Regions from separate parts of the Homo sapiens genome. Here region 1 is linked to region 2. The links are contacts of gene promoters, found by promoter capture Hi-C in blood cells and fetal thymus (Javierre and others, 2016). All regions are on one chromosome and are shown on one strand. The core of a region is centred on a gene start or on the middle of the fragment in contact, and the rest is flanking DNA. Distances in the headings are between cores, read along the strand shown.

Region 1 (6,320 bases), core at 2,478-4,977, 220 kb after region 2:
GGCACGGGAACTAACTGGGTCCAAGGAGTAAACACAACCCTAGCTAGAGTTCTAAGTTCTTCCATCCCATGGAGACTGCACTGGAGGGGCAAGACCTGGAGTGGGAAGTCTGCAAACAGAGAGTTTCAGGCTTCAAAAGCATTCTAGAGAAGTTGCGTTCTCAAGAAGATGAAGCCAACAAGAACCCACATGTCACAGACAGCTCTTGACAAGAAACCTTTCCAGAAGGGACCCCCACACACTGTCATATGGAAAGTGCTTACTGATGAGATTAAGGGGACTCCTTAGTCATCATCAGGAAACAGACAACTTAAAATGAAATCAATAAACAACTTATCTGTAAACTTAGGAGCAGAAATATATTCTGAGAGTGTGTTGAAATAAAGGAGGGCAATGTTGCAATGACAGTGCTTCAGGAGGACAGTGACAATCATGGAGTCCAGAAAACGCCAAATGAACAGTAGGAACAAGGCAGTATTTGCCTTGTTCAAGGTGCTGTCCAAGGAAGACACGAATGCTATCTGGCTGCCTGAGAACACTGGCAAGAAAGGAAAAGTGTCCCTGGCCTGCAGGCCTTGCCCTAAACACTTTATTCTGACTCCACACCTACCTTGATTTTAAGTACCTTCAGTGTAAGGATAGAATTGCCAGATAAAATACAGGATGCCCAGGTAAATCTGAATTTCAGATAAACAATACTTTTTTTTTTTTTTTTAGAACTTGGTATTATTATTTTAGTATTTTATAGTATTTAACACCCCCTACTTTTTTTTTAGATGGGGTCTTGCTGTTGTCTAGGCTGACCTCAAACTTATGGCCTCAAGAGATCCTCCCATCTGAACCTCCCAAGTAGCTGAGACTACAGGTGCATGCCACCAAGCCCAGCTTAATCCCACATTTATATATGTCTATCCCTTATAAGGGGTATATGTATGTCCCTAGTATGTGGTATACATACGTCCCTACAACATTTGGGATGTATGTATCCTACAAGAGTATTCATTGTTACGTCCAATTCAAATTTAACTACATGTCCTATATTTTCAATTCTGGCATCCCCTAGTGGGGATTAGGGCATGAGATCTCTGCTTGGGTGTTCCTCTCTGAATCAGGAAGAGTATCTTTTTTTTTTTTTTTTTTTAAGAGATGGGATCTTGCTCTGTCACCCAGGCTGGTGTGCAGTGGTGCAGTGATAGTTCACTGAACCCTCAAACTCCTGGGTTTCAGTGATCCTTCTGCCTCAGCCTCCTGAATAGCTGGGACTAAAGGTGCATGCTGCTGCACCCAGATTATTATTTTTATTATTTTTTTTAGAGACAAGAGTCTTGCTATGTTGCCCAGGCTGGTCTCCAACTCCCGGCCTCAAGTGATCTTTCCATCTCAGCCTTCTGAGTGCTGGGATTATAGACATGAGCCACTATGCCTGGCTTAAAAGAGCATCTTGTACATGGCAGATGCTTAGTAGTTTGAATGTTTGAATATACTTGAATTAAGATGATAAACTGCTTCTAGAAAGCACTAAAAAACTGTGACAGGGGATATCTGAAAAGCAGGGAGTCATAACTAACACTGTGTTCATTCCAGAAATATTTATCAACTGCTTATTACATATTAGGAATTCTGTCTTTGAGAGGTATTGGTTCCTATGACTGGGATTGTCTGACTTGTAGCATTTTATTTTAGAGTTCCCTTTTCATCAAGCACCACAGGAGATTCTAATGCAGAGCAAATTGTGGTGGTGGGCAAGGGTAAGCAGGCGGGAGGGCAAGGTGATGGTGGGACTCTTAGAAATGGACACTCCTTTCCAGAGGCTGAGGGACAGGGCAGGATCCTGAGGTCCCCAGAAATACTTACCTTTGACAGCTTGCTGGACGTAGGCTGTTGTCCCATCACTAAGGGTCACCGTGTGCAGCCCCAAGCTCTCCATGGCAAACTGCTGCTCGTGCACTCAGACATGAAGTTGGCTTCTGGCCAGCACCAAGAGCCACAGCTGAGGTCAGAGATTTCCTTCTGGGTCACAAATCTAAGAAAATAAACAGTATCACATTATGAGTTAACCAGCTTTCTCCTATCGCAAAGACACTCAGGGAAGGAGTTAATGAGGCCAGCCAGCCAAGAAGAAAAAAGATGAATTCTTCAAAGTAGTGAACTATATTGGTTTTTATGAAAAGGGCTCAAAATACACATTATCTAAGAATTCTAAAAGTTAAGCATAGAAGAGAAGCATGCCAATCAAACTGGTCATAAAGTAAGAAATCACTGATCAAAACCCATTTCTAAACTTTCTCCCCTTAGGAAGGAGCCCTGCTGAAGGCAGGCAGTTAACCCCACTGCTGATGGTTCTCTCTGCCTACTCCAACATCTCTCCTGTGCTCGGACCCATTTATCTACTGAGCTTGTTAACCATCCTCAGGGAACATCCCACATGTACCACACGTGGAATAAGTCCTCAACAGAACTCACAATGTGTCCCAACCTTCCAGAACTATTGTACTTCCAGTATCCCCTATCCCAGGGGTGGTATCGCCTTCCACCCAGAACTTCAGGGCGGGGGGGGGGGGGATCATGCTTGAGTCCTCCTTTTCCCTTAAAAGTCCAGGTACTTATTTCAGGCATGTCTCACCTTTCACCTCTGGACAACTATAAGGAGCCTTATAACTTATGTCCTCAGATAAACTTTTGTCTGTTTCCAATTCATTTTCTTTTCTTTCCTTTTTTAGAGACAAAGTATCACTCTGTCGCCCAGCTGGAGTGCAGTGGCTCCATCACAGTTCACTGTAACCTCGAACTCCTGGGCTCAAGTGATCTTCCTGCCTCAGCCTCTTCCAACTCATGTTCTAACATTCATGTTTATGCTGTCAGGGTGAATTTAAAAAAAAAGCTCTCTTCCCACTATCTTGGAGCCTGTAGAGGCCTGCTGAGAACAGGACTTCCAAAAGGCAAATATGGGCGGGGTGTAGTGGCTCATGCCTGTAATCCCAGTGCTTTGGGAGGCTGAGGCAGGAGGATTATTTGAGGCTAGGAGTTCAAGACCAATGTGGGCAACACAGCAAGACATTGTCTCTACAAAAAAAAAAAAATTAGCCAGGTGTAGTGGCACATGCCTGCAATCCTAGCTACACAAGAGGCTGAGGTGGGAGCACTGCCTGACCCCAGGAATTTGAAACTGCAGTAAGCTTTGATCATACCACTGAATTCCAGCCTGGGTGATAAAGAGACTCTGTCTCAAAAATAATAATAAGATAAATACAATACATTTGGAAGGCTGTAGTCCAAGGCCATTTTTTGCTAGCTGTAAGTGGGGCCTCCAGAACCAAAGCGAGGACACAGCTCTTATTAAAATTGAGGTATTGGCCAAGTGCGGTGGCTCACGACTGTAATCCCAGCACTTTGGGAGGCCGAGGACAGTGGATCACGAGGTCAGGAGATTGAGACCATCCTGGCTAACATGGTGAAAACCCATCTCTACTAAAAATACAAAAAATTAGCCGGGCGTGGTGGTGGGCACCTGTAGTCCCAGCTACTTGGGAGGCTGAGGCAGGAGAATGGCATGAACCTGGGAGGTGGAGCTTGCAATGAGCCAAGATCGCGCCACTGCACTCCAGCCTGGGCGACAGAGCGAGACTCCGTCCCAAAAAAAAAAAAAAAAAAAAAAAAAAATTGAAGGTATTTATGCTCGAAATGAAACTAATTCTATTTAGGCAAGAGATGTACTTACATGTATAAAGCAAAGAACAACACACTGACTGCTGGCAGCAAACTGAAGAAAACCAGCATAATCTGGGGAAAGGTAAACTCAGGCCCATGGAAACAGTGGCATGGTTTGTGCTAAATTCCCAAGCAATCTTGCTAAAGCTATTGAACACAGAATCTGTGTGACGCTGTGCCCCTCAAGGACTTAAGCTAATGAAAAGTAAATAAATAAAAGTAGATTTATAAGAAAAAAAGAGTACAAATCTAAACATACCACTTCCTTGACTAAAACCCTTCCATAGTTTCCTACAGCTCTTAGAGTCCACCTTGCATACAAGGCTGGGTTGTTATAAACTCCCACAGCCTAGGTACCACCTTTTCCTAGCACTCACACCTCTGGGCTCAACCTACTTCAGTACTCATCACTATCTGTTTAATGTCCGTTGCCTACACAAGGCTTTGGGCTCTAGCCTGGTTTCTGCGTCACAGTGGTTTCTCCAGCAACTCACACTGTGGGCTCTCCACACATCCTGTGAGTGACTCCCTGGGTCCCTCATGTGCAAGGTGGGAAGCACTGAAGCTTCCTGCTGGCAGGATATCTTCTGTACCCACTGTGGTGTGCAGCCTGCTCTAGCAGTGGACCCCAACACTTGTGAAGCCTGCAGGAAGCCCACGGCCTCTAAACTCAGTGCAGTCGTGAAGACTCTCTTTGACATCCATTCTCAAAATTCTCCTGGACTTGGAATCTGGACTGCCTACTGGATTCTCACGACTTACCAACCGATATCTTTGACTGGTGCTACCCAAACTGTTTTCATGTCAGGGGACCTAGAGAGACAGATATTTGTACATTGCATTGCAGATGCTGCTGCTTAAAGTCAGAAGTTCACATTGCAGATGTCACTGCTTCAAGCCAGAAGCGACCAACTGGGGCTTTGACAGCCCTGAGGGGCGAGCGGATCAATATCTTGGCAAAATTATAGACCATCCAGGAGTTCGAGACCAGCCTGACTAACATGGAGAAGCCCCGTCTCTACTAAAAATACAAAATTAGCTGGGCATGGTGGCACATGCCTGTAATCCCAGCTACTTGGGAGGCTGAGGCAGGAGAATTGCTTGAACCTGGGAGGCAGAGGTTGCGGTGAGCCGAGATCGTGTCATTGCACTCCAGCCTGGGCAACAACAGCGAAACTCCGTCTCAAAAAAAAAGAAAAAAACAAAACAAAAACTGGCTGGGCGTGGTGGCTCACACCTGTAATCCCAGCACTTTGAGAAGTTGAGGCGGGCAGATCACAAGGTCAGGAGATCCAGACCATCCTGACTAACAGGGTGAAACCCTGTCTCTACTAAAAATACAAAAAATTAGCCGGGCGTGGAGGGCGCCTGTAGTTCCAGCTACTCGGGAGGCTAAGGCAGAAGAATGGCATAAACCTGGGAGGCGGAGCTTGCAGTGAGCCAAGACTGCACCACTGCACTCCAGCCTGGGCGACAGAGTGAGACTCCGTCTCAAAAACAAACAAACGAAAAACCCAAAAAAACCTATAGACCAACTGCGACACGCTGATTGGAATGCTCTACCCCAGGCATGGCATCTCAACTAGAATTATTCATTCATTCTGTCCATAAACATTTACTAAATGGGCTAAGGTGCAAGGGCAGCAATACTATTATATAGTGAACACTACTATAGAGTTAACCACGTGCTAGGAATGTCACATACATTAACTCATTTAGTTCTAACAATCCTACAATCAAATGCTATGATTATCCTCATTTAAAAGTGAGGGAACTGGAGGCCCAAGACCAAGTTAAGTAACTTGCTCAAGGTTACACAGCTAACTAGTAAAGGAGGATTTCACCCTAGGCCATTTAATCCAGAGTGTGACCTTAATTACTATGCTGCGAAGCACAGAGGTGAAGCTGGGGGTTTATGAAACTTGAAGCTACTCCAAAATACTTTTTTGGTGTGTGAGCCTTTGCATTTTCCAGGAGAGAGGGAAATCCAAGGCTGTCATCAGGGTCTGATAGGGATTAATGGTGAAGAACCACTGGTCAAGGTGGGGATTCTGACATCTGACATCTCTGGTCTATTAGCATCCTTGCCCAGAGCCCTGATAACCTCCACGTGGTCCCTGTCTCACAAGAGCTCTGCTCCTGGCCTCTCTTGGTCTGCTCTGACCTTCAAGCTTCACTCTCTTCATCAGGTAGATTCTTTGGGTAACCCGCTTTAGTGTAACTGCACTGTGTCAGAAGACACATAAGAGAAACCAGGTCTAAAAACAAAGCAGGCTGGGCACGGTGGCTCATGCCTGTAATCCCAGCACTTTGGGAGGCCGAAGTGGGCGGATCACTTGAGATCAGGAGTTCGAGACCAGCCTGACCAACATGGTGAAACCCCGCCTCTGCTAAAAAAAAAAAAAAATACAAAAATTAGCCAGGTGTGGTAGCACATGCCTAGCTACTTGGGAGGCTGAGGCAGGAGAATTGCTTGGACCCAGGAGGCGGAGGTTGCAGTGAGCCAAAATTGCATCACTGCACTCTAGCCTGGGCAACAACAGCAAAACTCTTGTCTCAAAAAAAAAAAAAAAAAAAAACCCATAAATAAATAAATAAAAATAAAAACAAAG
Region 2 (5,844 bases), core at 1-2,500:
GACCCCAGCAGCCCCTCAGCGCCCCCAGAGCCCGTCAGCGTGGGGGAAAGGATTCAGTGGAGGCTGGCAGGGTCCCTCCAGCAAAGCTCCCGCGGAAAACTGCTCCTGTGTCGGGGCTGACCTCTCACTGCCTCTCGGTGACCTCCGTCCTCTCCCCAGCCTGGCACAGGCCGAGGCAGGAGGAGCCCGGACGGCGGGTAGGACGGAGATGAAGAACATCTGGAGTTGGAGCCGCACATCTGGTCTCGGAGCTCGCCTGCGCCGCTGTGCCCCCCTCCTCCCCGCGCCCCAGTCACTTCCTGTCCGGGAGCAGTAGTCATTGTTGTTTTAACCTCCCCTCTCCCCGGGACCGCGCTAGGGCTCCGAGGAGCTGGGGCGGGCTAGGAGGAGGGGGTAGGTGATGGGGGACGAGGGCCAGGCACCCACATCCCCAATAAAGCCGCGTCCTTGGCCAAGCGGAGCGGTGGTTCCTCAGCGCGTGCGGAGAACGAGGCGGCAGGAGGCGTCCGAGGCGCGAGCTGGAAGTCTCAACCCCCGTCCCACTCCTGCCCAGGCCCCGGGCGCTCCCGCGTCCCCTCCCCGCGCCCGTCGCGGGTCCTACCGAAACTCGGCGGCCGCACAGCGTCGAGACGCCCCCCGTGGGGGCCCGGGGAGCCGGGGCGAAAGGGAGGGTCCCGGAGGTCGGGGAAGAGGGAGAAAGGGAGAAGAAATTCGAGAAACTAGCCACGCGGGGAGAACCAGACAAACCGGGTCCCGGCAGGGCGGGCGCAGCCGCCAGGGCGGAGCCGGGTCTGGGGCCCCGGGAGTGGGGGGCAGGCCCGCGAGCTGGAGGGTACGCTCCGCCTTGGCGGCTCGGGACTAGGGTGGAGGGGCCGGGAGCCCCGGGGCCCGTGCGCTCCGGCTCTGCCGGGCTCCTCGTGACGCGGCACCCACGGCCCCCGGCACCGACGGGAGCCCTGCCCGCGAGGCGAGGGCTCCGCCCTCGGCCCCGCCCCAGGCCGGAGCCCCAAATTCCGGCGGGTGCCCGGGAGCGGGGCGAGGCCCGGAGCGCAGGGGGAGGAAGGCAGCTCCGCACGGGCGGGCGAGGAGCGGGGCGCCCAGGCGCGCGCCAGCCGGGGTGGCCGGGTCGCGAGGCCGCGGGGTAGGCGGCCCGAGCGCGGCTGGACGGCCCCGCCCCTCCCGGCCAGCACCGCCCCCTGCGCGCCCCGCCCCCTCCTTCCCGCAGCCCCCACCCCCGCCCCGGCTCCTCAACACAAACTTTCCGTCCCGCTCGCTCCCTCCTCCGCGCTCGGCGCCTCCCGCTCCAGCCCGGCTCATTCCGCACATTCCGGCCAGCCCCCTCCCCACGACCCCCCTTCCCCGGCCCCCCTTGCGGCTCCCTCGGGCCCGGCGGAGCGGCCCGGCCGGAGCGCCCCCGCGAGCTCGGACCAGGTAAGCCGGGCGGACGCCGGGAGGAGGCCCCGCTCGGGAGAGGTGGTTTGGTTGGTCGGCTGGGCTGGCTGGGGGGGCGACACTCGAGGGGGACTGGGTCCCCGAGCTATTGTCCAGCCGGAGCTGGAGCCCCGGATCGGGGTGCCGGGAAGTTTAGAGGGAAGGGGGAAAATCTCTCCGGGAAGCCCCGCCCCCCGCCCTCCCCACCCCCCCGCGACGGGGACGAGTTGGTCCGGGAAGGTGGGGAAGCCGGGGAGACCGTGTCCCCTGTGCCGTCGCCTGTCCCGCCGTCCGTGCTTGGGGGGTCGGGGCGGGGATCCGGGGGCCGCACAGTGTGGAGGGCCTGCCTGCCACCCTGGAGCTCATATCCGGGGCGCCCAGTCCCGGGCCCCGCCGCCCTTTGGACTCCCGGCCCGCGCGCTCCCGGAGCCCGCCCGGCCTCAGCTCCACGCAGGCCTCGGGCCCGGCCTCCCAGCGCCCAGGCCGGTTTCTGCGCGCGGTGCCGCGGCTGCGCTGGGTTGTGGAGGGTGTCTGGGACCAAAGCCGCGCGCCCCGGCCGTGTGTCCCCTGAGAGGCAGGGAGGGGCTCACGTTCCCTTCAGTTCTGCCGCCTGCGTCGGGGTGCTGATTCAGAGTTCCAGCCCTGAGCGCTGTGAGCTTGGCTCGGAGGGGTCTGGATTTGGGGCCTTTTCTTCCCCACACTTGCTCAGGGCCCTTGTTTAGACTTGACAAGGTTTGAGGGTGGCTGGTCTCCCGCTTCCTACCCCGGTCCCCACCATTGTCTGTCATGCCCTTTATTCCTGCTAGGGGAGGGAGGGCTGGGAGCGCTGGTCTGGATCTGTTTTCCAGCCCAGCTGGGCCCTGGGGCAGTGTCATTGAGACCCCGCTCTGTCAACTTTCCTGGTGAGGGGCCCTGATCCAGGGCTGAGAGATTCTTTCAGTGCGAGGGGGAAGGAGGCCTTGGGGCGGACTTCTCAGGGGCTGTCTTCTTCTGTGTCTTCCCTCTTTCCAGGTAGGGGCAGAACCAGGTCAGGCCTGGACTTGTTGTCCGGAAGAACAGGGCATAGGGGTAGGGGCTGGACACAGCTCAGAGGGGCTGGTGCCCATAGCGGCTCTGCGTATCCAGTCTCTTGTGGCCTGGTTCTCTGTACACATGTTCCACCCCAGTGCTGGGGCCACCTGGGGCAAGGAGGGGAGGCTTTCCTCAAAAGTTGGAGATTTGGGGGAATTATGTCCTCTCCCTTCTAGACTCCTGTAGCCCCCCTCCCACCAAGACCCCTCTCGTAGGGGCACTCCCTAAAGGATGTGGTTCTGTGGTCTTCTGGGTCCCTGCTCACCCAGTGGGCAGAGTGCACAGATCTTCCAGGACAAGGCTGTCCAGTAAGGGTAACTTCAGGGGCCCTGGATGCCCCCTCCTCAGGGAGAGGGTAGGAGCCAGTATGAGTCCCAAGCTCTTGGGCCTTCCCCTACCCCCCCAGGGAGGGAACGTCATTAATGCTAATGAGCGCATCTGGGCTGGGGAATGGCTTGTTAGAGTGGTCAGTGGTTGCCAGGACAGAGCAGCACATTAAGTGTACAGAAGCATCACATGGGTCCTGAGCCCTGCTCCCATCCTCACCCAAAGGTTTGTAGACCCTGGCACTTTCTGCCAACTGAAGGAATGTTAAAACCGGGAGGATTTGATATTCTCAACAATATCAAAGGAGAAGATATCTCAACAGAGGTGGTCAAGAAATAGGGATCTGGTCCCCTCCGGACCTTTAACCAGTTGCGCCATCTTGGCAGGCCCCTTTGGGCCTCAGTTTCCCTGCTTGGAATGAATGACTTCTCAAGTCCCTTTTCTCTGAGCTCCTCCCAGAGTCTGTCTCCCAGTTTGCCTTCCTTCTCCCATGATGGAACCTGAACTTGGTGGGGTCTGGAGAGGCGGGTGGGTGATCCAGTGGCCCAAAGAAGAAGGCAAGGACAAACCAAGGGGTGACTGAGGAGTAGCTCAGCCAGATGAACAGGGCTGAAAAGGTGGCGGGGGGCAGGTGTCAAGGGACAGGGGGGCTTGGTGGATTGGGGGATCTTGCCTCTGAAGTGGTCATGGGTTCTGTTAGGGCTGAATGGCACAAAGGGTGCTCAGAGGCCGCTTGGGTGGCTCTACCCTCTGCCCCACTCCCAGACACCTGTGGGGGTCCCAGGGCTCAGTGTGGAAATCGCTGGTCCTGCCCTCCTCCTCCTCCCCGCCCAGGATGGGGAGAGGAGCCCAGGGGTCTAAACGCTGCAGCTTTCTGTGAAGGGGCTAGGAGGTCGCAGCCTCTTCTTCCCACATGGGGGCTGCAGAAGCTGTGGGGTCCCAGGGGTGGCCCTGAGGATCTGCCTCTGGGTAGAGCTGGGGAGGTCAGCAGGTCACACTCGGCACTGTCCCTGGGGCCTTGCCCTGCCTTCCCTCCCCTCCCCTCCTGGTGTTGTGCCAGCCCTGGGCTGTCTGCAGAAGGGGCCACTTCCCTCCAGGGAGAACCCTGCCAGGGAAAGGGCTCTGCCTGTCTTCCCCGACCCACAGGAGGTTGAGGTTAGGGCCAGAGAGGTTCATCCCCCTGCACATCCCTAAAGCCTCAGCCCTTGGGGTTTCCTAGAGTGCCGATTGTTTCCTGTGCTCCCTGCCAGGCCTGAAAGGGCAGGAAGTGTTAGAGGGAAATGAGAATGCAACTGTGTGTGACGCTGGATGTGTGTGAGAGAAGCCATGAGTGGGACATTCTATGTGGGTGAGACTTGTCTTCTGTGGGGCTGGATGTGTGTGGAAGAGAACCTTGGTCAGAGCAACTTGTGCAGGGCTGGGTGTATGCAGGAGAGAAACTGTGGCTTTGTGACATTCGTGTGTGTGACAGATATACACGTCCATAAGAGAAACTGGGTGACTCTTCATGTGTCCAGGTGTGCCGCCACCTCTGTACCTGAGAACCTGCATGGGGGATGTTCTGTGTGTGCCAGGGCATCACCCAGGATGTGCCGATGAAGGAAGCTGGCTGCCTAGCCATCTGTGTGTACCTGGAGATGACACTGGGTGTGGCTCTGATGCTCAAGTGACCTGCGTGTGAAGGACACCGCACTCGCACGATGCTGTGTGTATGTGAGCGCGCGGGCGCGTGTGCGTGAGAAGCCGGATGAGTGGCGATCTGTGTGATGTGTTACGCTGTGGTGTGACCACTTGTGACCTGCATGTTGTGACGCAGCATGTGAGATGGCCTCAGGTTTGTCTGTGTGTGACTTACATGTGACACTACATGCGAGTAAAACAACATGACCAGCTCTGTGTCAGTATGATGTGTGTACCAGCAAGGTGGGCCCCATCCGACATGTGCCAAGCATGAATATGGTATGCGGTGTGTGGGTGACACTGAGCACCAGAAAGCGACACCGTATGTGAGAGAAACCGTGGGGCGTGACTGATGCTGGCGCTGTGGGTGGGTGGTCACTATCTGAGCGTGTTTGGGACTCTCGGGTAGTGTGGGTGACACCCCCAGGGCTGTGCCAGGCAGGGCGTGTAGGAGGCTCTGTGGGATGCTTTTGGGGGCCTGTGGTCCCTGACGTGTGGCATCTATGTGGAAGACAATGAGAAAGACACTGATAAAAACAAAGAAGGAATGTAATTAATGCCTCTCAATTGTACACTTAGAAATGGCTAAAATGGTAAACTTGATGTTATGTATATTTTATCACAATAAAGACATTTTTAAAAACCCAGCAGGAGAGAGATGCGGGTAACAGTGAATGAGCAGGACAGTGGCTGTGACGCAACTGTGTATGCGAGCGAGAGGAAGGGCGCAGAGGAAACCTATTTGTTCTTAGATGACACCGTGACTCTCATGAGGGCACTGACTGAGTGGCTGGTGGGAGCCCAGTGGGCGACCCAGAGTACCAGGAGTCTGGCATGGTAACTGAGAACTGAGAAACCCAGTGACCCCCTATAGTCTGTCTCTCACTGGATACCTGAGATTCCCACCCTGGGACCAGGACAAGATGAGGAGATAAGTCAGTCCCAGGGAGGGGGTGAAGGGAGGTCTGGAAACTGGGCCCTTCTCTCTACAGGGGACTTGAGGGCTGAGTCTCCACCCTCCTACCCGCTATACTGCTTCAGGGAGCAGGAGCGTGACAACAGATGAGATGAGCTTTGCAGAAGGAGGCCTGGGGGGACTATCCCAACCCCCTCTGCTCCCTGAGAAAGCCCCTTTCCCAAGTAGTGTGGGGAGGAGGGGCAGAGAATCTCCAGTCCCAAATTGGAAGCACATTAATAAGCAGGGCGGGGGGTGGGGAGAGAGTGGAGGGGCCCCCACCTCCCTCCTAGTGGGCTCTGCAAATTGCTTCCTCCTGTAAAAATTGAGACCCTGTTCCAGGAAGGAGGGAAGCCCTCCCCAGCCTGGCAGGGTGTGGC

The links. Contacts are between HindIII fragments. The CHiCAGO score rates a contact against its expected background, and 5 or more counts as called.
Region 1: a fragment that was not itself captured here is called in contact with the fragment with the promoter of TEAD3 in region 2 in 1 of 17 cell types (non-activated CD4 T cells); the score reaches 6.0 in non-activated CD4 T cells.

What each region holds. Positions count from the first base shown.
Region 1 is chr6:35,276,759-35,283,078 of GRCh38, reverse strand. It overlaps ZNF76 (zinc finger protein 76), which reads right to left. Exons shown (of 14, transcript NM_003427.5): 2 at 1,855-2,023. The coding sequence starts at 1,927. Among named protein-coding and RNA genes, the nearest start is that of DEF6, 18 kb to the left of the region's middle. The HindIII fragment of the contact is 1,097 bases long and covers 3,179-4,275 here.
Region 2 is chr6:35,492,485-35,498,328 of GRCh38, reverse strand. It overlaps TEAD3 (TEA domain transcription factor 3), which reads left to right and starts at 1,250. Exons shown (of 13, transcript NM_003214.4): 1 at 1,250-1,431. TULP1 (TUB like protein 1) reads left to right here. Exons shown (of 15, transcript NM_003322.6): 15 at 1-455. The coding sequence ends at 2. It overlaps LOC124901309 (a long non-coding RNA gene), which reads right to left and starts at 196. Exons shown (of 2, transcript XR_007059561.1): 1 at 122-196. RefSeq lists enhancers at 1-343, 344-1,274, 2,221-3,006, 5,432-5,844, 5,503-5,844 and silencers at 743-1,072, 1,083-1,212, 1,393-1,442. The HindIII fragment of the contact is 26,537 bases long and covers 1-5,844 here.